Regions from separate parts of the Homo sapiens genome. Here all the other regions are linked to region 1. Evidence: promoter capture Hi-C in human tissues and cell types (Jung and others, 2019). All regions are on one chromosome and are shown on one strand. The core of a region is centred on a gene start or on the middle of the fragment in contact, and the rest is flanking DNA. Distances in the headings are between cores, read along the strand shown. Region 1 holds the start of UNC80 (unc-80 subunit of NALCN channel complex). Region 2 overlaps LOC105373855 (a long non-coding RNA gene). Region 3 overlaps PTH2R (parathyroid hormone 2 receptor).

Region 1 (3,957 bases), core at 762-3,261:
ATTTTATATTATTCATTTTTAGAATTGGAGAACATATGCAAGACATAAAAGTGCAGAAATGCATATATTTTGTTCAAGTAGTTCTTTCACAGGCACTCCATCATATGAACTTCCACTATAAGTCTCAGTTTTGTTGATTAAGGATTCGACTTCACACTTGCAGGTGGCAAAAACACCCTACACCACCTGGTTCCCTGTTATCTCTCTGCCTTCTCTTCTACCACTCGATCCCGCCCCACCCTTTCACTTATTCCCCAGTAGGTGCTAATTTCCTTTAACATGTTTCCTCTGCTCTTCCCTCAGCTGTCCTTCCCTCCCTTCCCCTTGTGTCTTTGGCCAAGGTTCACATTAATGGGTAGATAAGCCTTATCTATCCATTCTTATAAAACTCCCCTCCCTAGTGCTTCCTAGTATTTCTTTTTGCTTAATTTTTCTCCATAGTGCTTACCACCATCTGGCTTACTATGTATTTACTTATTTGTTTGTGGCTTGTCCCCTTTCTACTAGGATGTAAACACTGTATTTGTTTTTATCATTGTTCTATTCCAGCACAGAGAATTGTGCCTGGCACAGAGTGGGTGATCAATAATATTTGCCAAGTGAATTAATATATATAGTCCGTTTGATTTAAAATCTGTCTTTGGGTTCAAACCACCACACAGAATAGGGAAATAATTATTAAATGGTGAAAATCACATACCACACAAGAAGCTTCATATTGCTTCCCCAGTTTGGGCCTCAAAAATGCACTGAAAAATTAATAGAGATATTTGTTAATAAACATAAGTAAAATTATTATTAAAGCATCCTTGTGACGTATTTTTCAATGAATAAGACAGGATGCTATGAAATTCAAATTTCATGCTTCCTTATAGCTTTTTAATGAGCAGGTGTTGAACAGCTGATGACATTTTCTTTTACACGTGTAATTGCATATATGAAAGAGAAGTGGATCTCGATGGTTTTCGGTATCCACTCTTAATCTGAAGACTTCTAAGATTTTAAATCGCCAGTGGTCAGAAGTGGTGCATTACTTACGTGTACAGTCATAATAAAAACTGAAAATTGAACACGGCTTATGGGTCATAATTTCCAGAATCTAATATCTTATCTGATAAATCTCTAAAATAACAATAATAAAGAAAACCTTTTCTGTTTATTGGAATAGGTGTCAGGCCTTTCCGGGGTTGTGGGGGAAGGTCCCTTATCACAAATCCTCAGGAGATTTAACTGGGGAGATTAATCTGAGCAAAACGGTTAACAAGTGGGCATAGCAGATATTCGCCAAACAGGAGCTGGAAAAACAACAGGTCACTGGGCTAGAATTACAGCAGGAGATGGAGGGGGAATTGGACGCAGGAGCACAACCAGTCATAATTATCTAGCTCCCCGCCCCCTCTTCCCAGGCTCTCTGCCCTCCCACCCCCTAAAATAATGTATACATTTATGCGACAACTGCCAATCTGCTTGTCGTCAAACTTCACTGAAATATATACATATATATACATATTTTAATGCGTGTTTTTAAGCTGGTGCAGAGGGCTTGTTTTCCAGCCCCAGAGAGGGAGCTGCAGGCTGTGGCGCGGCCTCAGCGGCGGCGGCGGCAGCGGCGACCCGGGCGGCCCCAGGAGCGCCCCCAGCCCAGGGCGGCCCGCGGTGCGCCCTCTGCGCCCCTCACCTGGTTTGCCGCCACAGGAAGGTCTGGATGGGCAGGGGGATGCCGCGGCCGCCGTCCTGCTCCTGGCCCTCGGAGCTCTTCCTCTTCACCATAATGGTGGCTCCCGGGAGTCCTACTGCAGGACCCAGCTCTGTCTCCTCGCTAGCCGCCGCCGCCGCCTCCTCCCGCTGCTCCCAACTCTCATCCCCTCCTTCCCCGAGGCAGAGCCGGCTCTCTCCGCCCTGATCCCCCGTGCCTCTCCCCTCCCCCCACCCCTCCCCGCGCGTGGAACATGGCTGCGGGAGGAGGGGAGGGCTGGAGGAGCCGCGGAGCGAGGAGGGGGGCGCTCGGAGCAGCGGTCCGCCTCGCCGCCCCCGCACCCGCTCCCTGCTTTCAGCACCTCCCACTGTGGACAGCGGCCCGCGCCGGGCTGCACGGCCGGAGAAGCGAATCCGGGGCAGCTTGAGCCGCAGGGGTACGGCCCAAGAAGTCCACGCTCCGCATCGCAGGCGCTCGTCCCCTGCGCGGCCTCTTCAGCCCCCGGAATTCGGCTTTCCCCGCTCCGAGCTGCACTCAGGAGTGTCCCCTGTCCTGCTTTCCAACCTCAGCATCCAAACTGTCGCCGTCTGGGTAGGAGGAGCTTTGGGGAACCGCAGAGCAGTCGCTAACCCTGGCATCATTCTCACCTCCAGCAAGGAGATCAGGAGTCCAGGGGTTAGCCGGAGGAACACATGAAAATTATTAGAAGTGTAAACCAGGAAGGTGAGGCAAGGTTGGCAAGTGAGAGGAAGCTTGAAAGATCTTAGATATGAGAAGTTATTTTTATATGATAACCACAAGAAATAAACCTTGTTTGTTTTCCTAAAGCAGGAATACAAAGTTCCCAAAGTAACCAGTTGTGGATATCAGTTAATTGCAAATTGAGGAAGAACATTTGAATCATGCTGTGAGGAAATGTGGTTTATTACAGTCCATTAAATGCACTTGGGTGATCCTGTTCGCCCCCAGTGATAGCTACCATTTTCCTTCAGTTGTAATAGTCAAATGCTTATATGTTACATATATTAATATTTTATAGTTGGATTGCTGTTAGATATATTATCTAGGAGTAAAACAAGTAGGCCGGGGAGGGGGGTGAGGTGGGGTGAAGCAATCGGAATAGTAACTACCTGCAATTCCTCCTCCTCCCCCTCCTCCTTCTCCTTCTTCCTCCTCCTCCTCCCCCTTCTCCTCCTCCTCCTCTTCTCCTCCTTCTCCTTCTTTCTTCTTTCTTGTTCTTTGACGGAATCTCGCTCTTCAACCAGGCTGGAGTGCAGACGTGTGATCACGACTCACTGCAGCCTTGACCTCCCAGGCTCAAGAGATCCTCTCAGCTCAGTCTCCCCAACAGTTGGGACTACAGGTGTGCACCACTACTCCCAGCTAATTTTTTATTTTTGTAGAGATGGGGGTCACACTATGTTTCCCAGGCTAGTCTCAAACTCCTGGGCTCAAGCAATCCTTTCACCTTGGCTTCTCAAAGTTCTGGGATTACAGGCATGAGCCACCATGCCTGGCCTCATCTTTTAGAGCAAAGATATTGGTGTAATCCATGAAATGAAGAATCAGACTCCAGGTCCTAATCTCAACAGATGTAATATTTCATATATAATTAACAGCATAGTATATATCAATATTTTTTGCCATAGAAATAAATTCTTCATTTACTTTCTTGAAGTTATCTTTTATTATGAATCTCAAAAATATGGATCTTATGATCTCAAATATGGATCTTGAAACAAAGAAAGATTCTAAGTACAGTTTACTCAAGGCATATTTATTGAGTGTATTTTATATACTCATAGCTCTATGGAGCTATATGGACTCTTGCTCACAAGGAAGTCTGAATATTAAGAGAAGACAGACATGAAAAGAGAAAAGAATCATGGGAGATACGAATGCAGATTCAGTTATGAACAAAAGGTCAAGGCAGAAATTATGTGTAGGAATCAGATGGAGACTTTGTATGACAGGCTAGAAAGTTTTCCTAGAAGGCCTTTAAGCAGAGAAGTAGAAACTTCATATCCATTTAAGTGTGAATGACATGACAGGAATGTAGGGATTATTTGAAACAGGCAAAAGTTGTATTAGGAACCCCAGTATGAAGATTAGAGAAATGTTTTATGAGATCCTGAACCCTGATCATAATAGCAGAACTACAGACAAGGGGGTGAGTTTGAATAATATTGCAGAGGTAGAATTAATAGGATATGATGACCAAGTGGGTATGGGAAAAGAAAAATAGCACATTGGTTAAGAGC
Region 2 (3,957 bases), core at 572-3,071, 1.4 Mb after region 1:
AGCATGGCATAATCCTATTGTATACCTCCTTCTGATATCTGGAATACAACCAATGTATTCACATAATGATCATAAGCTATGTCTACTAACTCTCATGTATCATACCCAGTTGGTTTCTATTCTAGAACTATGAGGTCAGTACTTGTGAAATGTATATTGAGGTCTACTATGAAATTTGCTTTTATTCTCTCCACAAACAGAGCTTTTATGTTTGTGCAATAAAAGTTCAAGAGATACATATACATCTGGTTAAATACTTACTGAGACATCAAATATAATGTTTATTAGTTGAATATAATGCACATAAATCACATTTCCAATAAAATATACATATGCTTTGGAAATTAAAGAGACTATTTTAGCAATTATATAGTGAACTCTTGCTGACCTAACTTGCAAAATATTTAGATAAAATTAAGTTATTGTCTGATTCATCCATGTCTAAAATGATTTTACCCACATTAAAATAAATCAATGAGATCTTTATAAAAGGTTATAGATAGTACCACAAACCTAATACCAAAATAACCACTAATATAATCTACTCTGAACCATCCCTTAGTGATCCGGATGTTGCTATTTTTACTAGGATACCAGGTTAAACTAGACATCTGAAAAAGACATTCTAATGAGAAATTCAAATAGCTCTTGCTACCCCTGGAAATATAAGAATACTCCACCGAAGGACATATCCTTTCATTTTAGGCAGTCCCCAAAGAGAGGTGCTGGTGACTAACTTAATGACTGGGAAGATATTTATGCTGAGTATGTCTCAGGATATTATAACAATATATTACAGGAGAAAAGGTCTATCAAAGTCAATTCTACCACTTACATTTTGAAGAATTTAGACATTACTATTTAGAATTCATATTTTATTTTGTTTTCAATAAACAAGTACTCTACTAGCCTCTGGACATATAACCACTACAATATAATATTTTAGTAAGGTATAAACAGAAGTGTTTTCTGAAAAACAAAATAGGTCAAATCGCTGAAAGAACTAACTTGGGTTTTAAGAAGAGTTTAATTTTCCAGGTGCTATAACTGGAGACCTATTGAAATACAGTTTTACTTTCCATAGGGTTATTAATGAAGGGGTAAGGCCCCAGAGACAGGGTGAGTATCAGTAAAAAGGGCTGAAAGGACATCAGCATAGAGGTTCATAGCTCCACACTACATGCTGGGAAGGAAAAGGTGAACAGCAGGTATGAACTTTTCTCTATCAGAAAGGAAAGAAAAACCTCAAATAAATCTCTTGGTAAACATGCTATGTTGGGAGTCCTCAAAACCACCACCATCATGCTTAATGATTTGCTAGAAGGACTCATAGGACTCAGAAGATGTTGTCTCATGGTTATGATTCCTCAGAGTGAAAGGATACAGATTAAATTCAACATAGGGAAAAGTCACATAAGATGATGTTCAGGCAGAACCAGGAACAAGCTTCCAGGGGTCTTCTCCCAGTGGAGTCACACAGATGCACTTAATTCTCCCAGCAATGATGTATGACACCTTGTGCAAAGTGTTGCCAACTAGGGAAGCTTATCTGAGTCCTGGTGTCTAGGGTTTTTAATCACCTACTTGGAACCCAGCCCCACCATAACCCTGCCACAAGCAAAAATAGGCATTCACAGATGACATTGTTAGCATAAACTACCTGGTCAAACTGGTACAGCATAGCCCAAGGCTGCAGATATACAAACCACTCTTATCCAGCAGATTATGCCGAGGACTTAGAGCTCATCTCCCAGAAACCAGCCAAGGGCCAGTCCTGAGGACTGGCCTTTCTTGGGAATGTGCAGGGTTTGAGCAACCCAGACCTACTGAGTTAACCCTTCCCTGAACACATGTGAATAACCAAATTTTCCAGTAAACTCACTAAGTATTTACTAGGAATGGAAAGATAATGGAGAGTATAAAATGTTTTTAGGAGCACACATCTTGATTGTGTGTATAAATAAACTTAGAATTCACAGGTTTCTGGGTGATAGGGGAAACTAAGAGATGATTATGTAAACAATAAGGTATGAAGAAGAGACATTGCATAACTGGAATTATTCCCTTTGTTTGAACGATGTCTCTGCACATATTGCTTATAAAGAAGCTTGTCTATTAAATCTAAAACTTATCCTACTGCATGAGAATAGGGTTATTTTGGAAATCTGTGCCAAATGGTCTCAGACTTCTCCAAGAAAAGACTGTTTTATTTGTGCCTGGTGTTTGCCTGGTCCTTTGAATTCTGAGTCAAGTTTGGGACTGGTTAAGAGCTAGAATTCAAGAGAGTCTAATTTTATAATTCCAGTATATGTGTTATCACAAGAGATACAGACAACTCTTTTCTGCCTTAAGATTCAAACAGCACAAAATCGAGATAGTAAATAAATTAATTAGTAATACAATAACTTATGGAAAGAGAGAAATCACTTTAAACAGTTTTAAGGGAATTGATCTAATTACATTCCCCAAACCACATCCAGACACCTCATATAAAGCTCTAAAATGATTATCTAAGTAGAATACAATGCCCCTAAAGAAGCTTTTCATTTTGAACACAAGAGCGTGATTGTCTTTCTTCTATGCCTTTGCAGTTTCTTGGTCTGAGGACACATGTCTAATTATCCACCAAATCACCAAGATCATCAGAAATGATTGGAACATTGACAGTAGCTGCTACAAAAAGTAACACTTCCAACCAACCATTACCATAAACTCATAGAAACTTTTTATTCCATTTCTTGCATGAGACATGTTTGACTTCCACGGCCATTCTGGCATCAGATCCTTAAAGAAAATGCCAAGGAGTGATAAATGTGACTCTATTTATATGTTAAAAATTAAGTAAACCACCATTTCACTAATTATAATGAGGATATATCTGCTCTGGAACTTAAGACTACTTCATTCTGAGACAAAAGAAACTAACTTTTTTTAATGAAATGCCTAGGGTGACAAATTCAGTCTTTTCTATGACTTCTGTGGCTTAAAGAATATTAATATCAAAGACCCAATGAATTAATTTTCAATTATTTGATTTTAGTTTTAAGTTTCATGAATAAATTGCTTTCTAGTAATCATTGTTACAGGAGTTATTAAAAAATTATTTTAGGCAGATAAAGAAGAAAAGGGGTCCTTGGGAAGTTTATTTTTCTTTTAAATCAGCTCCAGAAATGTTTCTTGCCTAGCAGAAAAACCCTGGCAGGCAAGCTTTGATATGCAAATGCAGGCCATTAGAAACTAGGTCCACCAAACATGGCGATTCCTGCCATCTTCTTGTGCCCACATGTGCCTGGCAACATGGCCACCCCACATATCCCCACATGTGTAGAACATCATGGTGCCCTTCATTTGCATATTAAAAGGCTAGGGTGGGAGGGCCAGTTTTTTCACCGGCTACTTGAATGACATACCTGGTCAAACCAATCCTCTGGGCACTATGCCAGTAAGACACCGCCTCCTCCAGCCTCCTCATATAAATGGCTGTTTTTCACCGCACTCAGGGTTCCCTCTTTCAGCTTAGAGCCCCCCCACCTCTATCTCTGTACAGAGGGAGCCTCTTCCTTCTTTCTTGCCTATTACAATTCTCCACTCCCTAAAGCCACTCCACATGTGTCTGTGTCGTTTTATTCAAACCGGTGCAAGACCAAGGACCCTGGTGTTCCTCCAGTCATCAAAGCCATATGATTTTGGTGCATTGGCCAGGAATCCAAGGTACAGCATTCATCAGAGTGGTAAGTATGGGAGTAAGCTTAAAATCTGTTCTGTCATTCCAAGGTGCTCTTGGCCTCTTTTTTTTTTTAATTATACTTTAAATTCTAGGGTACATGTGCACAACATGCAGGTTTGTTACATATTTATACATGTGCCATGTTGGTTTGCTGCACCCATCAACTCATGATTTACATTAGGTATTTCTCCTAATGCTATCCCTCCCCCAGCCTCCCACCCCACAACAGG
Region 3 (3,957 bases), core at 925-3,424, 1.3 Mb after region 1:
AATACTAAAATGTTTAACAAAAGGGTAAAAATAAGCTCTACTCCTACCAACAAGAGTTAATAATTATACCATTTTGGGTAGATAACGTTATAGCCTTTTAAAAAATAGTCACACCAATGGTATGCCAGGTTTTATGGGATACAAGGAGAGTGGACATTCTGTAATCAGAAGTGCCTATGCACAAACAGAGAAGCAATCATGGTGTCATCCTAGGGGATCGTGGAGTCTGGGAAGCCAGATCATCCCTGGGAGTCCCCTCAGGTCTGAACAGCCACTTCCTGATATACAAGGTAGAATGTGTTAGCTTTATTGCTGTCCAGAAACCAACATTATTTTTATGACTTTATGGAGACATTTTTTAAGTTAATGTGTTGCAGGGAGTAGGAGAAATCTACCTGGAGTGTGGGCAAGTTATTAACACGTGAAAAGTAAAAATGATAATAGCTAATGCTTACAGCGCTGTGTGGCAGCCACTGTTCCTAATGCAGCCCAGTGATTAACTCTCGTAATCTACACTATTATTCCCATCTTTTAGATGGCAAAAGGGGATTGTGAGTTTAAATAACTTGCCCAAGGCCAGCCTGTACCATAAAATTTCAGCCTGCACGCTCAACAACAGGGCAGACCTGGGATGCTAACGAAGGCAGTCTCGCCCAGAGCCTATGCTGTAACCACTGTGACACTGTCAAGTGGTCAGAAAAGGGATGTCTGAAGAGGTTGTCCGTAAGCTGGGACCTGAAGGAAGAATGGACAAGCAGGGGGAACAGTATGGCAGGCATACAGAACAGCACAGGCAAAGGCCCTGAGGTGGGAACAGTGTAGCATGTTCAGGAAACTAAAGAAAGCCATTGTGTGGAGCTGAGGCAGCAGGAGGGAGAAGATGAGATGACATGAGATGGGGGAGGAAGAAGGGACCAGGTCATGGAAATGAGGAAAATGTGTATGCCAAGTGTGAAGGGACAGTGCTCAGAATTCCAAGCCCTAACTCTCTCAGCCCCATGTCCTTTCCACTTCATATCACTGTGGCTTAAACCCCCACCCAGCAGACACCCACAGTGGTTACCCACTGCCAGCTTCAACGAAGCCCTGAGATCTTTCCAAATGAAAAACCTGATTCCTTCACTTTCCAATGTCTAAACCTTTGGTTGTCATCCCTTGCAAGATTAGGTGTCAATTCTTTAGTGAGGCTTAGAAGCCCCTTCAGGGTCTGGCCCGGCCTCCTTTGCAGCCTCAGCTCTTGACATTATTCCACACCCACGCTCAACCTTGGCACAGACCATTGGAATGCTCTCGTACCACTTGCCAACCTGTGATGAATAAATTTCCCCCATTAATCACTACCACCTTTGCTCATGATTTTGTGTTTATTATTTACTTCCAATGCAGATATTAAATTAGTTTTTTTCCTGAATGTTAATCATGCTTACAGAGCTCTGGTCTTTGGCATTCTAAGTGAAATAATCACTGTCCTTGGAATCCAGGTTTTAAAACATATCAACTTGGGTTCACTGTGTATAATCCAAGCTCCTGGATTTCCAGGATTTCTGTGTGTGCTTCAAGTTGATCCTCTGAACCGGTGCCACTGGCAATCTAACTACCTGGTGTTACACATCACACAATTATCCACACAGGCCTTCCACATTCTTATTCCCAGGAGGGCCAAATCTCTCTCCTAGGAGCTCTATATTCTTGAGGTGTATCTTCTTGTCTCTTGAGATATTCCCCTCTTCTGAATTGAAAACTATACCTTGGAGCTTTTCATTATAATTCTATTTTTTCTTTCCTTTAGTTTTCCACTTGCTTTTTTAGTTTTTCTCCTTCTTAACTCAGCCTTCTCTAAATTATTGATTAAAATAAGTAAATTATTTATTTCAAATCCAATTCTTGACATTTTATGAAAACTTTCAGATACACTAGTAGATTGTGAGTAAGTTAAGAGCCTTCAAGGGAATTGTGATAACACTAAATTATAATAATGAAACAAAAAGGTAACTCTTAGTGAACAGAAAGATATTCTTGAGTCTCAGCTGTGATTTTTGAGATTAAATCAACTTCATAATATAGGAAAAGTACTTCAGAATTCTTAGCTTAGAACTGTCATAATTTTAGCTCAAGAAGATGAAAATGGCCTTCTACATTAATTTTCTTCAAAGTTTATTGAGTGTGCCATCACTTCTATTTCTCCTTCGCCAACAGCGAATCTTCAAAAGCCCTTTAATCACCTAGCTTTACTGTTTCACATTACAAGTTACAAATCTCAGAAAATAAATTTTTCATCCATGGTGATGATGTGAGTGACTTAGATCTGTAAACAAACTATAAAGCTTTGGATAAAAATCAGTCATTTCCATGGAAAATGCCCTAGGATTTCCTTTTCTCCACTGTCCTTTGCTTCAATTCCTGATAATTTTACAAGGATCTCTTGCATTTCAATAGGTCCTTCCTTTTCATCAAATGTAAAATCATATTTAATCATTATATAATCATTATATTAAAATGTGGGTAAAATTAAGAGCATTAATTAACTCTTATTGGTCAGTTTCAGTACAAGACACTGAAGGCAAAGAAAAAGTAACAAGATAAAGATTGTTCCCTTAAAAAGATAATAGTAAGATATGGAGAAGCAAACACACAGAGGAGGAACTAGAAAGGAGGAAAATAAAAGGCTTAAAAGTATAAATAAGGATTAAATACCAATGAGTGAAAGGGAAATCTGAGCAGTTAATTTTTATCTTTAAGTTCACTGATGTCTCTCAGGGATATAGTTACAGATCTAGGATTTTTTTCACTAAATTAATGTAGCAGCATTTGATTTACATTAAAAATTAAAATTACAGGTGTTTATACATTTAAGCCATGCATTCATCCATAATCGATTTTTGAGCTTCTCCTAGGATATATGGAATTGGGACCAATTTGTTAATAGGATGGTTTAGCAAGGATACAAAATAGCTTCTCTAAACGTGTTCTGTATTTTATTTCCGTCTCTAAACATTTATTTCAATGGGCTTCTAAACTGAAGATTCCTTTTGATCTCTCCTATTTTCTTTATGCATTTTTCCTATGAGGTAAATAAGCTTTTATCTGATTCTTTGGATGAGGTTACAATACCTCAACTACATTAATAGCTGCCCTTCTGACAAAGTAGGTGACACATTGTCCAAAAGAAAACAAGAAGAATATGAAACTGGGAAACAAAGAAAAACATCAAAATTAGTTAATAATCAAGTTGCTACATTGTTTTCTAATTTAACATTTATTATCAAGATAGTAATTATTTTTTTAAAATGCTTGTAATATGTATTACATACATGAACACCAGGAAAACACAAGGTGGTGTAATTTCTTCAACAACCCAAAAGAAGCTGATGCCTTAAAGTCTTCAAAGAAGATCAAGAGTAAACATTTTGATAAGTTTTATTAGATACAAAGAAGTGTGTGGTTTTGTTTTCCTTTGCAACACAGATGCAATGTGCATTGGAAATATTATAGGCAGATAAGGTCCAGTGCAACATGCATTGTGGTCTTTCTCCCTATTATTAGGTTAGTGAAAAAGTAATTGTGTTTTTTGCCATTACTTTCAATTCTATCTAATACCTATTAGATAGAATTATGTGGGATACTTCTTGGTATAAGATGTACTTAACTCCTTGGGGAAAGTATGCCAAATAAAAGATTTAGGGAATACTTTATACATCATATTACCATTCTTCTCTCTCAGTAATTTCTCTGTTTTCCTGCTATTCCACCTTTTCCTCCCTGTCACACTGACCTACTACCAGGTGATCAGAATGTTAAAGTGGTAAAATAATATCGTGGATGAAAAGGAGACATAGGGCCTTCCAACTCCCTAAACATATAAATGCTCATAGATATTTTGAAGTCTCGGAATTGACCCCAAGTGCTAGCTGATTAAAGGAAGGCTTTCTGCATGGATCTCAGTGTCAGTCACAATAA

What was found. Contacts are between HindIII fragments. The study calls those that stand out against the background at their distance.
Region 2: a fragment that was not itself captured here is called in contact with the fragment with the promoter of UNC80 in region 1 in 1 of the 25 tissues and cell types used here (mesendoderm cells).
Region 3: a contact is called between a fragment that was not itself captured here and the fragment with the promoter of UNC80 in region 1, in 1 of the 25 tissues and cell types used here (lymphoblastoid cells).

What each region holds. Positions count from the first base shown.
Region 1 is chr2:209,769,886-209,773,842 of GRCh38, reverse strand. It overlaps UNC80 (unc-80 subunit of NALCN channel complex), which reads right to left and starts at 2,011. Exons shown (of 65, transcript NM_001371986.1): 1 at 1,679-2,011; 2 at 701-749. The coding sequence starts at 1,770. RefSeq lists an enhancer at 1-452. The HindIII fragment of the contact is 3,928 bases long and covers 1-3,404 here.
Region 2 is chr2:208,397,148-208,401,104 of GRCh38, reverse strand. LOC105373855 (a long non-coding RNA gene) reads left to right here. Exons shown (of 3, transcript XR_001739862.1): 3 at 1-293. It also overlaps a transcript of PTH2R not described here. Among named protein-coding and RNA genes, the nearest start is that of PTH2R, 7.7 kb to the left of the region's middle. The HindIII fragment of the contact is 3,315 bases long and covers 164-3,478 here.
Region 3 is chr2:208,460,120-208,464,076 of GRCh38, reverse strand. All of the region lies in intron 9 of PTH2R (parathyroid hormone 2 receptor), which reads right to left. Among named protein-coding and RNA genes, the nearest start is that of PTH2R, 55 kb to the right of the region's middle. The HindIII fragment of the contact is 5,593 bases long and covers 1-3,957 here.